2 separate regions of the Homo sapiens genome follow, and region 2 is linked to region 1. Evidence: promoter capture Hi-C in 16 types of primary human blood cells and fetal thymus (Javierre and others, 2016). All regions are on one chromosome and are shown on one strand. The core of a region is centred on a gene start or on the middle of the fragment in contact, and the rest is flanking DNA. Distances in the headings are between cores, read along the strand shown.

Region 1 (6,201 bases), core at 1,469-3,968:
AATAATGGTGATAATTTTCTTGGTGCTTCTGTTCTGGGAAAATGAGGTGAATGATGAAGCAGTGATGTCAACTTTAGAACACTTGCATGTGGACTACCCTCAGAATGACGTTCCCGTTCCTGCAAGGTACTGCAACCACATGATCATACAAAGAGTTATCAGGGAACCTGACCACACTTGTAAAAAGGAGCATGTCTTCATCCATGAGAGGCCTCGAAAAATCAATGGTATTTGCATTTCTCCCAAGAAGGTTGCTTGCCAAAACCTTTCGGCCATTTTCTGCTTTCAGAGTGAGACAAAGTTCAAAATGACAGTCTGTCAGCTCATTGAAGGCACAAGATACCCTGCCTGCAGGTACCACTATTCCCCCACAGAGGGGTTTGTTCTTGTCACTTGTGATGACTTGAGGCCAGATAGTTTCCTTGGCTATGTTAAATAACTCAAGATCAGCTCCCGAGTCTGAGATCTCTTCTCTCAATGGCATTGGAGCTGGCTGTGCCTGAGGCAGACCTGGACCGTGGACATGGGGCAATGCCTTGAGCGGAAGGGGAAGCCACTGGTAATTAATTTATCCTTCCTGTATTGCTGGGTTGGGATTGTTTTATTCTGCTTCAATAAAATAATCTTTACTGAATTAAACCATAAATTCTACATGTGTTTCCATTTTTTGTCCCTTATCTCTAGGTCCTTTGATGAGAAACAGGACTGAGATTAAGATAAAGGGAATGAGCCACTCACTTGAGGTGCAAAACTTAAGAGGGCACCAGAAGACCAAAAACCTAGTAACCTAGATGAATATATTTGATTTCAGTGTTTCCTTTTTCTTTTTTTGAGACGGAGTTTTGCTCTTGTTATCCAGGCTGGGGTGCAATGGCACGATCTCGGCTCACTGCAACCTCTGCTTCCCGGGTTCAAGTGATTCTCCTTCCTCAGCCTCCCAAGTAGCTGGGATTACAGGCATGTGCCACCGCGCCCGGCTGATTTTTGTATTTTTAGTAGAGATGAGGTTTCTCCATGTTGGTCAGGCTGGTCTCAAACTCCTGACCTCAGGTGATCTGCCCACCTCAGCCTCTCAAAGTGCTGGGATAACAGGCGTGAGCCACTGTACCTGGCCTTGATTTCAGTATTTTAAAACAATCAAAATTAATGCAAAAATCTTGGATGCTCGCCGGGCGCGGTGGCTCACGCCTGTAATCCCACCACTTTGGGAGGCCGAGGCGGGTGGATCACGAGGCCAGGAGATCGAGACCATCCTGGCTAACACGGTGAAACCCTGTCTCTACTAAAAATACAAAAAATTAGCCGGGCGTGGTGGCGGGCGCCTATAGTCCCAGCTACTCCGGAGGCTGAGGCAAGAGAATGGCGTGAACCCAGGAGGCGGAGTTGCAGTGAGCCGAGATCGCGCCACTGCACTCCAGCCGGGGCGGCAGAGTGAGACTCCGTCTCAAAAAAAAAAAAAAAGAAATCTTGGATGCTCAAAATATCTATCACAAAATTTTGAAGATCCAATCTGACAAGGCTAGGATCAGGGTAAGATGAGTTATGTGAGAAACGTAGTGCAGGGCCAGATCCTGGTATTTAAAATTTTAACATTTGTTCATCAGGGATTATTTTGCATTAAATTTATTTTCTGGCCAGGCGTGGTGGCTCATGCCTGTAATCCCAGCACTTTGGGAGGCTGAGGCAGGTGGAACACTTGAGGTCAGGAGTTTGAGATCAGCCTGGCCAACATGGTGAAACCTCCTCTCCACTAAAAATACAAAAGTTAGTTGGGTGTGGTGGTGCACGCCTGTAATCCCAGCTGCTTGGGAAGCTGACACAGGAGGAGCGCTTGAACCTGGGAGGTGGAGGTTGCAGTGAGCCGAGATCATGCCATTGCACTCCAGCCTGGGCAACAGAGCAAGACTCTGTCTCAAAAATAAATAAATAAATATTTTCTAAAATTGTTGCATTAAAATATTATTTATCTTGATTATTGAGTTTTGTGGCACTCTCTTAAATTTTGGTCTTAGAGTGAGTGTCTCATTAACCTCAGCCTAATCCTAGCTCTGCTTCTAGCTGTAGAAGCAACAGAGGTCACCTCTTAGGGTCTTTTTTAAAGATAGCATATACAACTCAGGCAGCATCTGTTCCTGTTCAGCAGCTCCCTTTGTGTCTTGAAATAAAGAAAGGAGCCTGACTGGTCTGAAACCATTTCCCTTAAAGACTTTAGAGAGACACAGATAAGGATTTCCCAGGGAGGGATTGAGACTTTCAGAGCTCAGTGACCTCCTCTTTGTGTCTCCAGAAGGAACAGAGAGGACTTTGAGCCGGACTACTAACTCTTTTCTCTTTTTAGTTCTTACAATTGGACTTACTGCTTAGTTTCCCCACATTCAGCTATGGGCATAGTATCCTTACAGCTAGAAGGAGAAGGACGAGAAAGAGAGATTTCTAATTCTGGGGATTTCATGAAGTCCTCTTCTTCTCTATTCATTAGTTTCCTTGTCTGTAAAGTGAGGATCTTGAATTAGATAATCTTTCAAGTTCTTTCCAAGTCTATTAGTCTATAATTCTATTTCTTAAGTAGTACAGAAAATGGCTATATTATAGCCATTGTTGGAGGGGAGAATTTGTATTGTGAGGTAGTAAGAAATAAGGGGCAATTGGCAAATAAAGGCCAGATTATGTTGTCACTAATTCTGAGCTATGGCATTTCAATCCTGTATGTGAGAGCTAGAGACTCATACAGTGACCTAGAGCAGGCATGGGTGGGTCACAGGCTTTGGAGAGCACTCTCTGTCCTGATCTTTTCAGTTGAGAGACTTCAGCTGTTCATTGCTCATTTGGACTTAGTTCAAGGTCATGTCAAAGAAGAAGGTGCACTTACGCTAGTTGTTAGCTCTGTCTTTTGTAACCATCAAGTTCCATGCGATTGATCAGATTTAGGAGGGGGCGTTGGGGGATAATCGTAAGTGAAGGACAGTTTGCAACCTTGTGAGTAGGCAACGCTTACTCATCTCATGGCTTCTTCCATCTTAGGTGGCCGTTTTTCAGCTGAGTTTCATTTTCTAGTTCTCTGTGGTAATTCTGTTGTCATTGTTGTCTCCATAGAATTTTGGGTGTCACCAGGTAAACAGAGCCCTCAGCATCTGAATAGAAACTGAACAGGAACAGGTAGGTGGTCCCTAGCACATGATTTGTTGGGCCTTGGTAGCATCATTTTTTGGGCAAAACTTTGAAGTGGATGAAATGCATCCTTTAGGTTCCTACATCTATTTTCTGAATTCTGATTCCTTTTTCTATCCCTCTCCCTAGGTTTTGTTGTCTTTTCTTTCCTTTTCAGTGCTTTTTCTCCCCTTCTTCACCGAAGCTCCTCCTTTCTAATTAAAAATATCTTGCAGATAAAAGTATAACTGAGATGAACCAATAGGATGTATCCTCAGAGTAATTTCATTCAATAGGGATCAACACCAAATTCAAATGAATTGTGACATTTTAGACATTCGTAGTTTGGGTGTGTGTGTATCTATATCTATCTATCTGTATCTAAATATGTATATACATATATATTATACAGATATATAGGATCAGAGTCTCATTCTGTTGCCCAGGATGGAGTGCAGTTGTGTGATCACAGCTCACTGCAGTCTCAGACTTTTGGGCTCAAGAAATCCTCTCCTCTCAGCCTCCCGAGTGGCTGGGACTATAGGCATATGCCACCACAACTGGCTTTTTGTTGTTGTTGTTGTTGTAGAGATGGATTCTCACTATGTTGCCTAGGCTGGTCTTGAACTTCTGGCCTCAAGTGATCCTCCCGCATTGGCCTCCCAAAGCAATGAGACCACAGGCATGAGTGACTGTGCCCAGCCAGGTATATTTTTTTAAAGGGCACCTCTTAGCAGTTTCAAATAAAACCTAGGCAGCTGTGAATGCTGCCCACTTGAAATATATGTCTCAGAAAGACTGGAAATTTCTGCCCTGCTCTTCTTCCTGTTTATCTTTCTCCTCCTGGTCTTTCTGTTTCCCTATTGTCACCTCACTACTGATGTCAATGGTATAGGATATAGAAGTTTAGGAAACAAAATAAATTCCCTATAAATCCCTCATCCTTTCTGCCTTCAAAATGTATCAGGTCTTTGGTCAAGGCATCCTTGGACACACACCTGGACACATATACTTAATTCTTAATAATCTATCAATAATCCATCAACCCAATTAAGGCTTATGTATTCTTGGTGCTAGGTTTTTCCTCTAGTTTCTCACACAGACATTTTAAATTCAAATATAATTTTTTAAAAGTTCATACATAATAACATCAAATGAGTGGTATAAGAAGGGAATGATAAGAAGTTCAGAGAAGTTGGAAATGGATTTAGTAGACTTAAGCGGTGATGAAACATGTAAAATAAAGAATGAGATCTGAACTGGGCTTTGAAGGATTTCAAGAGGCAGGAAAGAATAGCCATTCAAGAAAGAAGCTAAGTGGGAGAGATGGCATAGGGTATATTAAAAAAAGAGTCACACTGATTGACTAGGGCAGGTTTGTGTAGCAAAATAATGGGAGATAAATCCCGATAGGCAGATTGAGATGAGAGCAAGTGGAGCATTGGCTCCTGGGCTCAGGGGATCAGACTTCCTACTGTGAGCAAAGAGGAATGTTTCAAAAATTCTGAGTGTTGTTGCAAGTTATGTTTTTAGAAAAGTAGTGTATAGAAGAAATTGGAGGGTCAGGAAGGGGTGATTAGGAGGGAAGTAAGGGTAATAATGTAGGAGATCAATGTAGAAGGGATGGTGGCTTTAGAGGTGGAACATAAAAAAGAGGAAAATAGAATCATTCTAAAGAGAGAGAAATAATTATTAACTTAAATAACCTTTCTTTAGGGATTTTCCAGGATTGACCTCAAGTAAAGGATTTTATATACTAGTAAGGTCATGTTATGTTGTTAACAAATAGTGTTGAGAAATTAGTGTGTGTGCAGTAATTACACACACTAAATAAAACTCAGGCAGCTATGAATGCTGCCCACTTGAATTACATGTTTCAGAAAGACTGAGAATTTCTGCTCTGCTCTTCTTCCTGTTTCCTTAACATCTACTCTTTAGCACTATAGTAAACTCTTGATTATTTATACTAACTGGAGGAGTGAAGAATGCAAAATTGTGGATAATTCCATTAAAATTTATAACTGATCCTGGAGTGCAGATTCTTTATTAATCTACAGTTCATTATTTGATTCTATATGAATAAAAGTATAAATAATCAGAAACTGTGTTTCAGGCTCGAGGAATTTTTAGCCTAACAAGAGGGAGAAAAGATTAACATGAATTGACTAACTGGAAAAATGAAAAAGATCATATAAAATGAAGTGCAACTTAATCTGTGCTGTAGGGTTTCAGAAAACAAAAAAGTCATGCTGGGTTTTGGTATAAATAGACAGAAAATATTTCACAGAATAAGAAGCAATGGTACTGCCCAGGTCATTGGGATTCCGACTGCCAAATGGGCACTTTGTTCAGTTCTCCCTGAGCTTCCTTGGTTCCACGTGGTCTCCTGAGTCAATCTCATACAACCCTATCTACCCCTCTGTTGCCCCTCCTTCCCTCAGTTAGACACAACAGCAGAAACTCCCAGGAAACAAACACGATTTCACTTTTAGCTCTGCAACAAAGTGGAATCTTCCTCTACAGGATCAACTTGCCGAAGGAACTGGTAAAGACAGAAATCTTATGAATGAGAATGGGTGGCAAAAGAAATGAGAGATGGGGAAATGGCAATGTGTGTTTTATTTTGTTTTCGAGTGGCTACCATGTGCCAGGTTCTATATGAGGCTATAGGAGATACAGTAATGGTGAGGGAATGTGTTGAGTGAGAATCGTGACCCACCATGGAGATTATACACCCCACCAATGAGATTATAGACCAAGGGAAAAGGATAAGAAACAAATACTTGGTTGTAGATCTTTAAACATGTCACCTTACGTAATTCTCACAATTTTTTTCAGATGGGGAAACTGGAGTTAAATAAGGTTGAATAAATTATAAGCAGAAAAGCAGGAATTTGAACATGAGTCTTCAGACTCCACAGCTGATTGTCTTTCTATTATATCATAGTTCCATTCACAGATATAAAAATTTTAACCTACATGTAGGGGTCCCTACCAGGAATAACTGTCAGGAGGAAGAAAGAACTACCTCTTTAATCTTCTTATTTTATCTTT
Region 2 (6,405 bases), core at 1,800-4,299, 63 kb after region 1:
GTGCTGATGAGTTAGGAGAGGTCATCAAAGGTGATATTTGGCCAAACCCATTATAGTACTACTTGGTTCCCAATATGGATGATGGAGAAGAAGAAGGAGAAGAAGATTAGTAGGAGGAAGAATTAGAAAATATTGATGAAGAAGATGAGGGTGAAGGTGAAGAAGATGACAATGGTGATGAAGGGCAGGAAGGAGAGGAGGATGAAGGAGAAGATGACTAATAGAACACTGATGGATTCCAACCTTCCTTTTAAAGAAATTTTCTCCAGTTCCTGGGAGCAAGTTGCAGTCTTTCCCCCGCCCCACCCCGCTTCTTGTGCTCAGTAACCCTGTTCTCGTGGTCCCTTTTCTCTACACCATGGTTTTCAACTTATTTGGGAGGGAAATACCTTGAGCAGAATACAATGGGAAAAGAGCCTCTATCCTCTTTCTATTCTTAATTCATTTTTATCCCTTCCTGTCTGAGCAAAAACTGTATGGAATCAACACCACTGAGCTCTGTGGGGAAAAAAAAAAACCTGCTCCCTTTGCTCTGCTGGAAGCTGGAGGGTGTGAGGGCCCTGTGTGGCAGTGCGGAGAATTCTAGCTTCTTTCCTACTTTCTCTATATATTGAGCTCAGAGAGTACACTGTGCCTGTATGTGAATAAAGACAGTTAGCATTTACCAACATGTATCTGTCTACTGTCTTTTGTTTAAAAAAAGGAAAAAAACAGTTCTAAAAAATGGGGTTTTAGAAGGTCAGCAAAGGGTGGCTTTGACATGTTTGGCCGGGTTAAGTGGGCATTTTGACAACATGGCTTCTCCTTGGGATGTTTGTGATGTTTGACAGATATCCTTGCAGTTTAAGATGACACTTTAAAAATAAATTCTCTCCTAATGATGACCTGAGCCCTGCCACTCAATGGGAGAATCAGCAGAACCTGTAGGATCTTATTTGGAATTGACATTCTCGATTGTAATTTTGTTCCTGTTTATTTTTAAATTTTGTTTTCGTTTCACTGGAAAGAAAAGATGATGCTCAGTTTTAAACGTTAAAAGTGCACAAGTTGCTTTGTTACAATAAGACTAAATATGTACACAAAAAAATTAAAAACTAAAAATAAAATAATATAGGTTGGGCACAGTGGCTCACATCTGTAATCCCAGCACTTTGAGAGGCTGAGCGGGGAGGATCGCTTGAGCGCAGGAGTTTGACCAGTGTGGGCAACATGGCGAAACCATGTCTCCACAGAAAAATACAAAAAATAGCCTGGAGTGGTGGCACATGACTATAGTCCCAGCTACTTGGGAGGATGAGGTGAGAGGATCACTTGAGCTGGGGAAGTAGAGGTTGCAGTGAGCTGAGATCTCACTACTGTACTCCAGCCTGGATGACAGAGTGAAACCCTGTCTCAAAAATAAATAAAGAAAGAAAGAATATAAATATTTTGTATCAATTTTCAGCTTTTACAGTCAATGAACTTAAGTCTTAATTTTGGTTACAGAATTAAATATTAATATTAACAATCAAGGCAATGTAAAAGTAAAGTACAGTTGACTGAAGCTGGGACACAGACGAAAAGAGAGTGAATGAAAAGAAGGATACTAATATTCTTATTTTACAAAATAGGAACTCAGAATACCCAGTGCCTATCTGAAAAAGATACTAAAATGATTAGCATAGTATTAAGTTAGAAAGGTAAACAAGAGAACTGAAATATAGCTATATTAGGAAGAGGGGAGGGAGGTGGAGTTGAGCTAAACCTTAATATGTTGTAAAGTCAATAGACCTTTGATGGATTAGTGAGTACAGGACACCTTTCCTAGTAGAGGACACCATTAGAGGGAATTCGTTTGAGGGAAAACAGCCTGCAAATTATTTATTTATTTATTTGAGATGGAGTCTTCCTCTGTCACCCAAGCTGGAGTGCAGTGGCACGATCTCAGCTCACTGCAACCTCTGCCTCCCAGGTTCAAGGAATTCTCCTGCCTCAGCTCCCAAGTAGCTGGGATTACAGGCGCCCACCACCATGCCCAGGTAATTTTTGTATTTTTAGTAGAGACAGGGTGTCACCATGTTGGCCAGGCTGGTCTTGAACTCCTGACCTCATGATACACCTGCCTCAGCCTCCCAAAGTGCTGGATTATAGGCATGAGCTACCATGCCCAGCCCAAATTACTTACGATTGGAAATCACCTTAATGTGACAAAAGAGGGAATACTTAAATAAATCACATTACATTAATAGAATAAAATATATCGAGTAAAACTTTTTAATGACTACTCAACAATATGGAAAATTCTATTATATAATAGAATTTTCAAAAGATATAAGTCCTCTTTCCCTAACCTTCCCTTTCTAAACCATTTAGTCCTAAAGCCACCAGGTGGGGCAGAACAAGGTCATAGACATTGATGAGGAGGGGCCATCTGGCACAGGAATAAGAACTCAGAACCCAAGAGAGATGAAAAGGTGTCCCTGGTGAGGGATGTCTGAGGGGGCTGAGAGGGGAACACAGCCTGCAGAATCACAGCCTGAGCAAGTGGAGGAGATGTCCACTCAGAGGGGTTGCCTAGTGTGAGATATCCAGGCCCAAATGGTGGACACCCATGTAGAGGGGCAGCCCTGGCACAGAGTGTCAGAGCCAGAGTGGGCAAAGGGCATCCATATGGGAGGGGGAATGGCGGCAGCAAGGTGAGATTGGTTACATACATGAAGATGCATGCAATAAGCAACTATATTAAAGAATATGGGAGAAGAAATTTATAAGTCAAAAAGTTATAAATAAGAAAATTAAGATATAAATATGGGAAGAGAAAACCTAATATGAGCTTGTGGGGTTGGATTTGAATTGAGGTATTGGTATAAACGTATGGTTTTCAATATAGTTACATAAAGAAAATACATGTGAGAACTTACATGTTACATAAAGAAAATACATGTGCTGCACTTAGGCCCTCGAATCGAGTTCTCCTGCAGGTTGCTGCAGATTTCGGTGTATCCTGGGGTGGGAGCCTCCAGCTTTGCCTGTGGCTGCTGTCCTTTCAGAGCTAACAGATACCTACTTACAGATAGTATTGTGAAATTAAAAGAATTTCAGCACAAGAAGGTGGCTGTTGCATGTAATCTTTCCTAAAGAAACCTATTTTAGGAATTTGGAAGAGAAACTGACAAGCTCATCTTGAAGGGGGAGTTGATAACCTTACTTTATTTTTGTGGGTCCCAGGACCATGTGGAGCTGGCTACAAATGTCATTTACAGGTACCATGCAGGGAACAGAAATATCACTTTGGGGGAGTATAGGTTTGGACCACTTTTCATGAGTCTGTTATGGGTTGGATCTTGAGGGGCTCATGAAAGACCAGCATTTATGAGATTCCTTCTCAGATTCCACATCATTCAATATTTTGATGGATATGTTATTTATCAAAGGCAAATATAAAAGTGCTTTGGAAGTATTGATAGAGATGAAAAATCAAGCTGTGAAATTCACCAAATATCCTATGTTCTTAGTTTTGCAGTTTGCAACAAACTGAAGAGCGCTGAGTCTTTCAAAATCTGTTCTGCATTAACAGAAGAAGCCCCACTCAAAGGAGAGGTTCCCTCCAGGAGAGCATCCCGTTTCTTTGTGGCGTTAGCTCTGAATCAGAACCAAGTGGCAAAAGCTATGTCCATTTTTTTCTCAAACCATGAATCCAGAAAGCATAGCCTGCACTAACTTAACTATTATAATCCATATCCAGTCAAATATGTTGGAAACCCTGATAGAGACACTAAAAAAATGCTGCAGAAGGAAATTTATTAAAATTTGTGAAAAGACATGCATTCTCAGAGGAAGTGCTGGCAAAAGTGAAGGAAAAGTGAAGGATATGCCTGCCCTTGTGGCCAGATTTAATGAGATCTATGGAAAACTGCACATCAGTGGCCAGGTCACCACTTGTACTTTGGGTACTCTGCTCTGCCACACCCCCAGGGACAGGAAATCCCATATGTTGCTATTAAACAAGAGGATGATGAGCCATTGGACCTTCCAGCCACTCAACCGGTCCTTTTTGGCTGAGTAATAATCCTCATTTCATCCACCTGTGGATCTGAAGGGCCTGCTTCTAGTGAGTTGTTGCCTTCCCTAAGAAGCAGGCATTGCACTTCAGTAGACGCTGTGCTGACACTTAGCCTCCTCTTGAAATTCCCAAGTTCACTGAATGGTGGCATGTTGATCTCTGAGAAGTTATGTTGCACTACTGTGAAGGTCTACATGCAAGCATGGTTCCCTCAGAAAGGAGCTTCCCTTGTACACTGCTGAGGATACCTGAAGGAACATGGTCAGTCTCCAGTCCAGCTTCCAGCACCAGAATGGAATCCAGCAAGCACCACAGGAATGAATTTCACTACAAGTGTGGTCACTCTGATTTTCAAGGGAGTAGTTACTTGTAAATTACATCCTTGCTGAATTCAAGAGGTCTGAAACCCTATTCTATCATGTTAGAAAATAGCCCAGGATTTCCTCACTGATCTGCCATCATATATTTCTATGACTTGAGCCCTCATTTTTCCATATGCAAAACAATAATGCCTATGCGTATTTGCATATAGATTTGAAATCTTCATGCAAAGTTCAGTAGGATCAGATTTTCTCAAAAATAAGAGAAATAAAAAAGGTTTGTAAGCAAAAATTAAAAAAACGAAAGAAAGAAAAAAGAGAAAATACATGCAAATACATGTGAGTGTGAGTGTGATTGGCTATTTGCCATATTCCCACCTATGTCCACTGAGACAGCCTTAGAGCTCTCTCACCCCAACAGCAATGAGCACCTACCTAGCACCCAGATCCAGGTTTCAAAATACTGTTCGTCACTAAACACAACCAGGTCATCTTAGAAAAATGACTGGTTCCAGGGGAAGGAAAATATAAAATGAGCTTGGACCATCTTGTAGTTTCTAAAAGCAAGGAACTGCCTAAATAATGATGGGGAGGCTGGGCATGGTGGCTCATGCCTGTAATCTCAGAACTTTGGGAGGCCGAGGCAGGAGGACCCCTTGAGCCCAGGAGTTCAGAGACCGGCCTGTGCAACATAGTGAGACACTATCTCTACAAAAAATGAAAAAGAAAGAAAGAAGAAAGAAAGAGAAAGAAAGAAAGGAAGGAAGGAAGAAAGAAAGAAAGAAAGAAAGAAAGAAAGAAAGAAAGAAAGAAAGAAAGAAAGAAAGAAAGAAAGAAAAGAACAAACATTAGCTGGGCATGGTCATGCACACCTGTAGTCTCAGCTACTCAGGAGGTTGAGGTAGGAGCATTGCTTGAGCCCAGGAGTTTGAAAGCAGTGAGCCATGATCACACCCCTGCACTCCAGCTTGGACAACAGAGCAAAGAAAAGAAGAAGAAGAGAGAAAGAAGAAGAAAAAGAGGAGGAAGAGGAAGAAGAAGAGGAAGAAGAAGAAGAAGAAGAAGAGGAGGAGGAGGAGGAGGAGAAAGAATAGGGATACATCAAAAACACACAGAAGCCCTATTAAAATAGCTTCCACTGGCTAATCTGGGACAACTTATAACTCATTGAATAAAACAAGAAACCATGAATCCATACTGATATAAATAAATGAATGCATTTAAAATATAAGGATTTAAATACCTACACAGTTTTCTTCTTCTTCTTCTTCTTCTTCTTATTCTTCTTCTTCTTCTTCTTCTTCTCCTTCTCCTTCTCTTTCCTCTTCCCCTTCCCCTTCCACTTCCCCTTCTCCTCCCTCCTCCCTCCTCCCTCCTCCCTCCTCCTCCTTCTCCTTCTTCTTTTTGAGATGGAGTCTTGCTCTGTCAACCAGCTTGGAATGCAGTGAGGCAATCTCACCTTACAGCAACCTCAGCCTCCCAAGTTCAAGTGATTCTCCTGCCTTAGCATCTTGAGTAACTGCAACTACAGGCAACTGCCATCACACCCAGCTAATATTTATAATTTTAGTAGAGATGAGGTTTTGCCATGTTGGCCAGGCTGGTCTCGAACTCCTGATCTCAGGTGATCTTCACCCTCCACCAACCCCCCAGCCTCCCAAAGTGCTGGGATTACAGGCCTGAGCCAACCGGACCCAGCTGAAATACTTACATAGTTTAAAAATGCATCCACTACAAAATACTTAGTAGTTACAAAGAAAAAAATAATAACTTCAGTAGAGAAGGCTGGCAGATTTCATTTTAATCAGGTGAACAAAGTAAACATCATCAATAATGGTTTAAATTGAAATTGAATTGAAACTTAGAGGATGCAGTGGGAAGAACATGCACCATTTTTGTGACATCTCTGCCAAAGATGGAGAATCTAAATCTAATCAGGACAAACCCACATGGAGAAACATTCTACAAAATAACTGGACTGGAATCTTCAAAAGAGTCAAAGTCTAAGAAAGCCTGCGGAATTGTATTACAACAAATGAGAAT

The links. Contacts are between HindIII fragments. The CHiCAGO score rates a contact against its expected background, and 5 or more counts as called.
Region 2: a fragment that was not itself captured here is called in contact with the fragment with the promoter of RNASE11 in region 1 in 1 of 17 cell types (M2 macrophages); the score reaches 5.9 in M2 macrophages.

The regions. Positions count from the first base shown.
Region 1 is chr14:20,584,518-20,590,718 of GRCh38, reverse strand. RNASE11 (ribonuclease A family member 11 (inactive)) reads left to right here and starts at 2,718. Exons shown (of 3, transcript NM_001394190.1): 1 at 2,718-2,859; 2 at 3,094-3,156. It overlaps RNASE11-AS1 (RNASE11 and RNASE12 antisense RNA 1), which reads right to left and starts at 2,495. Exons shown (of 5, transcript NR_122043.1): 1 at 2,401-2,495; 2 at 1-282. RNASE12 (ribonuclease A family member 12 (inactive)) reads left to right here. Exons shown (of 2, transcript NM_001024822.4): 2 at 1-646. The coding sequence ends at 439. The HindIII fragment of the contact is 10,143 bases long and covers 1-6,201 here.
Region 2 is chr14:20,521,926-20,528,330 of GRCh38, reverse strand. It overlaps the pseudogene PTCD2P1 and the pseudogene SETP1. Among named protein-coding and RNA genes, the nearest start is that of RNASE10, 20 kb to the right of the region's middle. RefSeq lists a silencer at 987-1,197. The HindIII fragment of the contact is 9,274 bases long and covers 1-6,405 here.